Regions from separate parts of the Homo sapiens genome. Here region 1 is linked to region 2. The links are contacts of gene promoters, found by promoter capture Hi-C in human tissues and cell types (Jung and others, 2019). All regions are on one chromosome and are shown on one strand. The core of a region is centred on a gene start or on the middle of the fragment in contact, and the rest is flanking DNA. Distances in the headings are between cores, read along the strand shown.

What was found. The method cuts DNA at HindIII sites, captures the fragments that hold promoters and counts their contacts. A contact is called where the count stands out against the background at its distance.
Region 1: a fragment that was not itself captured here is called in contact with the fragment with the promoter of RBM22 in region 2 in 1 of the 25 tissues and cell types used here (psoas muscle).

The regions. Positions count from the first base shown.
Region 1 is chr5:150,027,893-150,031,088 of GRCh38, reverse strand. HMGXB3 (HMG-box containing 3) reads right to left here. Exons shown (of 20, transcript NM_014983.3): 10 at 250-348. It overlaps LOC124901207 (small nucleolar RNA U13), which reads left to right and starts at 1,637; the gene lies at 1,637-1,740. The HindIII fragment of the contact is 3,972 bases long and covers 1-3,196 here.
Region 2 is chr5:150,699,035-150,702,442 of GRCh38, reverse strand. RBM22 (RNA binding motif protein 22) reads left to right here and starts at 1,381. Exons shown (of 11, transcript NM_018047.3): 1 at 1,381-1,511; 2 at 1,946-1,999; 3 at 3,172-3,201. The coding sequence starts at 1,458. RefSeq lists enhancers at 586-1,362, 1,363-2,139. The HindIII fragment of the contact is 5,081 bases long and covers 85-3,408 here.

The DNA.
Region 1 (3,196 bases), core at 568-3,067, 670 kb after region 2:
AAAATACACTAATCTCAGCTGTCCTACACTTTATAAATCTCACCTGGAAAGAGACCAAAACAACCCAGCAGATTCATCCAGTAGCTATTATTTGCATCAGGGATGGGATCTTCATCATTAACAATCTATACCTGACCCTGTTCTCCCTCCCAGCTACCACCACCCTCTCCCCCAGCCTCCTACTGACCTTCAACCACAAAATCAAAACAACCTCCATGTCAACCCACCACCACCTAGCTGCATACTTACCAATGTGACAGTGCAGCTGTACTTATATGGAGGAAACATATCGGGCTTGACCTCCACAACTTTCACCTGAGAAGTCCTGTTGGATGGGCCACTTGGTAGCTGTGGATCAGAACAAATTATTTAGTGCTTTTGAACCTTAGCCAAACTCCTGAGCTCCCATGTCCTGAAACGACTTGAGGGAATGCTTTCCCGGGGAATTTGTAGAGCTATTCTCCAAATGAGCCCTCTGGACTGCCAGTTGGCAGTCACAAGCCCACCAAAGGCTGAGTGTCATGTTCAAGTCCAGGCCTTGCCACATGCTTCTGTGCAGTTTCTAATACCATGTATTAGAAACACCATGAATCAGATTTACAACTACTACTGAGTTATAAAAGCACATAATAGCTTTTATACATATAAATACATGGTTGAACAACTTTGCATAGAAAGATGTCTGAAAGACTATTCACTAAAATGTCACAGGGTAAGAGGACAATCATGGTTGTTTCTCCCTCTTTACCACTATCTACAAAATTTGCTTTTTTTTTGGTAGCGATGTGGGTCTCACTATGTTGCCCAGGCTGGTCTTGAACTGCTGGACTCAAGCAATGCTCCCACCTCAGCCTCCCAAAGTGCTGGGATTACAGGCAAGAGCCACCATGCCTGGCCTCAAATGTTTTATAAGGAATGTATATTTTACTTATATAGCTAAAAAAAAGAAAGAAAAGATAAAGCATACAAAATTAAAATTATTCTATAATAATGAATTTAAGTTGATTTTCTGAATATCTCATGTACCTCTTTACTGGTTTAAGACTAGTAAAAGAGCTTGTGGCTTTTAACAAATACCCAATGTCACCAATCAAAAGGAAACTATTTACAGAGAAGACTGGGGTTTACCCAAGTAACAGAGTGTACATGAAGGGAATCTAGGGGCTGGAAATATACAAAACTACCGACGCTAACCAGATACCTTCCTTCTACACCGCAAGATCACACATACACCCAGAGCTGCCACATCTGTGTGGAAAACAAAACAGTTCTCAAAGTAAAAGCCAGTTGATATTCCTGTCAGGGCAAATGTAAAACTGTTAAAGAAAGGAAGTTAACTGACAAAGAACACATGACAGGGGAGATGGCAGACCCGTTTTCCTATTCCAACCTGGTCCATGACACAGTTTTCAAACTACAGGTCACAATCCAATGAGGGGTCATAACATTAATTTAATGGGTTGAAACCAGGATTTTGCAAATAGGAATGAGAAAAAAAAAGTGACTGCATATAGTAAGGGCACAGCTTCATTAAACCTTTAGTATATATGTTTACTGGGCAGTAATAAAAAATATGCCTGTTACTGAAGGTCATGATCAAAAGCTTGAAAAATGCTAACTTAGGAAATTTTGAGAGATCCTTTTATAGCTCACAAGTATGACAATCTGGTATTCATGCACATGGGTGAGATGTGCCTCCCTCAAACCTCATTATAACGTCAGCACATTACCCATTTGACATGAAAAAAAAAAAAAAAACTTGATAACTATTCTAGCTACATATAGCCAAAAAACCAACCAACCAACCCCACTAATCCATGGAATTTGGACACACAGAAAATTTTTAATATCTGTATCACTAAATGAAGTGAAAAATATAAGCCACAAACTAGTATATGGAGTAAGAGCCAAGTTTCTGATTTTTAAAAAACTGTATTAAAAAATAAACACACACAAATTCAGGAAAAGACCTGAAAGCACATCGGATGGTCATTCTGGGTGGCAGGATCATGAGGGACTTTTCTTTCTCCTTTACCTGAATTTTCTATATTTTCTACAACCATGCATTCATTTTTAAAAGGAAGCTAAAGAGACATGACAACTAAACGTTAATATCTGATCCTAGACTGGATCACAGACTGGAGAAAAATATGCTATATAAAGGAACTGTGCTAGAATAGGAGGGGCTTTAAAAATATACAATAAAATAAAGAAGACACTGGGGAGGTGGCTAATGCCTGTAATCCCAGTACTTTGGGAGGCCGAGGAGGGAAGAGGATCGCTTAAGGCCAGGAGTTTGAGATCAGCCTGGGCAACATAGCAAGAGACCCCGTTTCTACAAAAAAAATTTAAAAATTAGCTTGGTATGGTGGTGCCTGCCTGTGTACCCAGCTACTCAGGAGGCTGAGTTGGGAGGATTCCTTGAGCCCAGGAGTTCGAGGCTGCAGTGAGCTATGATTGCACCACTGCACTCCGGCCTGGGCAACAAAGCAAGACCTTGTTTCTGGAGGAAAAAAAAAAAAAAAAAAATATATATATATATATATACACACACACACACACACACACACACACACACACACATACATACATATATATACATATATATATCAAACACACATATATATACATATATATATACACACACATACATATATATATATACATATATATATATATAAAATCGGGTCTGTGAAAAGAAAATAAATCTTGGGGCCCCCAAATCTCTATGCTAAATGGAAAAGTCAAGCTGGGAACTGCTTAGGGCCAACCTGCCTCCCATTCTATTCAAAGTCACCCTCTGCTCACTGAGATAAATGCATATCTGACTGCCTCCTTTGGAAATGCTAATCAGAAACTCAGAAGGATGCAACCACTTGTCTCTTATCTACCTATAACCTATAAGTCCCCTCCCTGCTTTGAGTCTTCCTGCCTTTGCTTCCAGTTGTCCTGCCTTTCCAGACTGAACCAATGTTCATCTTGTGTATGTTGACTGATGTCCCCCTAGAATGTATAAAACCAAACTGTGCTCTGACCACCTTGGGCACATGTCATCAGGACCTCCTGAGGCTGTGTCCCAGGTGCATGTCCTCAATTTTGGCAAAATAAGCTTTCTAAATTAACTGAGACCTGTCTCAGATTTTCAGGGTTCACAGGTCGAATTGACACAATTTGGAATATGAATGGGAGAGTAAAG
Region 2 (3,408 bases), core at 132-2,631:
CAATGTCCATACAACGATCTGTATGTGAATGTTTATAATGGTTTTATTTATATTCACTAAAATCTGGGAACAACCCAAATATCCAGCAACTGGCAAGTGAATTGTATGATATATCCATACAATGGAATTCTACTCAGTAATACAAAGGAAGAAATTATTGATACATGTAATAATATGGATGAATCTCAACTACAAAATACTAAGTGAAAAAATATCAGATCCAAAAGGATATATAGGATTCCACTTATGTGACATTCTGGAAAAGGCAAAACTAGGGACAGAACACAAATTAGTGATTGCCATGGTTTGAGTATGGGATAAGTGGACTAACTACAGAAACAAGGGAACTTTGGGGATGACAGACAATTCCATATTTGACTGTAAGTGAATGTATGTACAAAATTCAAAACTAAAAAGGATAAAACTTTATGTAAATTATACTTTAAATCAACTTTTTTTTTTAATGAGGTGATTTAAATAAATGTGTTAGGTAGCTTGATGACACGGTAAGTATGAAAGTGGTACCAGAATGGCTTGAAACTCATAAAATATTGGCAGAGTGGTTATGAGTTATTCCAAAAATCAAATAATGCATATGTTGATTCGTAAGACCCTTGTCATTTCAGAAGCTGGAAATGAAACAGTACTAATGAATTTGTGGCTTCACCACTTTTTAGCTCCACAACCAGGAGCTATATCAGGAGAGATTAGGTTAATCTCTCTAAACCTGTTTTCTTTTCTATAAAAGAGGGATCATCATACTTGCCTACAGGGTAGAGTTACCAGATAAAATACAGGACGATTGGTTAAGTGATGTGAATTTCAGGTCAACCACGAATCCTACTTTAGGACGAGTAGGTACCATATATATTTATAATTAAAAAGCGATTCGCCGTTAATCTGAAATTCAACTTTAGACGTTCTGTAATTCGTGCGTGTGTGTGTGTGCATGTGTGTGTGTGAGTGACAGAGAGAGAGAGAGAGAGAGAGAGAGAGAGAGAGAGACAGAATCAGAATCTGGCAGCCCTACAGAGAGCCCTACAGAGAGGTTATGCGAATAAATAAGACACTGGAACCGCAAGACGTTCGCCCAGAGTTTGGCATAATAAGCGCCTCAGTGGTAGCGAACGCTATTTTAACCCCAGCCTCTGATGCATTACGTCTTCCTTTATTCTTTCGCCCAATTGTTAAATGAATCAACTGTACGTGTGGCCCTTCATTCCAAGCAGGCAAAAACTCGAAGGAAGCATCCAGGTGCATTATACCAGGACCCCAATTGTTAAGCTTAGAAATTCCAAGAGCGGGCGACGTCATGACGCAAAGGCCCCGCCCCGGAAGAAGCCCTAGACGCGTAAATAAGACGCCGACCGGCGCGGCGCTAGCCTCGGGGCTTGACGGGATTGTGGCGGTCCTCTCTCCCAATTCGGAAGCTACAGCTACCTCCGGACGCTCTCAAGATGGCGACCTCTCTGGGTTCCAACACCTACAACAGGCAGAACTGGGAGGATGCGGTGAGTGTGCCTGCCGGAGGAGGATGGAAGGAGGAGGCGAAGCCGCGCACCTTGCAAGCTGGCAGGACAGGGCCTGCGGCGCGGCCGAAGGAATACCGGGGAGGAGCCAGCGCGGCGGCCTAGCTTGGCCGGAGCAGGAGGGCGGAGGGCGATCCTCCTGCGGGCTTGAAGGGAGGGGGCTTAGCCAGGGTCCCGGGACCAGCACCCTTTCCATCCCTGCCCCCTCCAGCCTATTAGAGCTGGTTTTCTTTTCTCCCGCCGCCTGCCGGAAGTGCAGACAGCGCCCCCTCCCGCGATCGGGTCGTGATGGACTTCGGGTTCCTGCCGTGCCTAGTTCCCCACCCTCGCTTCCCGCCCCCTCGCCACCCCAAGTGTCACTGAGGTGTCAGGGTCTTCGGAGGGTGGTCCTCAACCAGATTTCCCATTTTCACCAGGACTTCCCCATTCTGTGCCAGACATGTCTTGGAGAAAACCCATATATCCGAATGGTGAGTGATCGCGTGTGAAACGAGTTATTCATGTCCTGTCGATGTTGTGGTACTTGCACACTGTGAAGTGTTTCTCTTAGACAAGCAGAAAAAATGATGCTCTTTTACTAACGCGAAGTGCTGGACGACTTGCAAAGAACTGTCATGTGTATTCTCTTACGAATCCGGTAACACTCCTGTAATGTAGGGGTAATAACGATAGCTAGTATTTGTTGAGCATTTACCTAGGAAATAGGTCTGTTGACCAGAAGGTGAGAGCGTTTGTGTCTTTTCATACAATAGTAAGGAATGGAGCTGGGATTTAAGTTCACATATTCTGGCTCTAGGAATGTCAGCATGATAGGAGGAGAACCAGAACTAGAAACTAGGTTTCCTGAATCCTGGTCAAATGCCTTTTGGCCAGTGTACTTTATCTCTTTAAAGTAAGCATTCCCCCTTTGTTACAAACTAGGGTAAAATTAGAACCAGTTAACAATAATAAGGTTAGGGCTGTATTATTGTGTAGTCGTAGAGGTGTTGATATGTTAGTATGTTCACGATGTTTGAATGGTTCAAGATGTTTGAATAGTTCTGTTTAAACAGAACATTTACTATATTCCGGGCATTGGCACAGGACAAGTCTACAGTAGCTACCTTTTGACTAAACTTTGTAAAGTGGGCGGGCCACAGCTGTATCCTCTCTGATTTAGGGATTGTGGAAAGCATTAGGAATGTTAGTTCTTGGGAGTGAACTTGGGAGCCAAAAATGAACCTAAGAGTTGTGGCTGTGGAAAGACACTCACTTACCTAGCATTAGATGCATATACTCTATTTCTTTTTTCTGTAGAGACAGCATCTCGCTATGTTGCCCAGGCTAGTCTGGAACTCCTGGGCTCAAGCAATCCTTCCACCTTGGCCTCTCAAAGTGTTGGGATTACAGGCGTGAGCCACTGCCACCCAGCCCAGATCCATATACTCTTGAGATGTTATCACTTATAATATGTTGTTATAGTATGTTCCCTACCCTCTTCCCAAAAAAGGTTGGGTTTTGGGTTTTGTTGTTGCTGTTTTTCTCTCTCTAGGATGCCAGGGATTTCCAGACACATTTCTTGGGTTATGTTTAAGGAAAGAGTAGACATCTGGCTTTTTTCTTTCTGTAACTCCAGTTCTTTTCTATTTTTTTTCTATTATAGACCAAAGAAAAGTATGGGAAGGAATGCAAAGTAAGTATGTCTGTTAAAGAGTAATGATTTCTGTTTCATTTTTCTTTTCTCTACCAAATTAGCCTTCAGCTTACTAAGTTTTGAGGTCTTCCAGTAAAAATCAGTGCTATACAACTTTTTATGTATTACTGATATATTCATTGGCTGGCAACTGTTTATGTGGGAGGTAAGAAAATGAACCCTCTAATGTAGAGATTCTTACGGTGT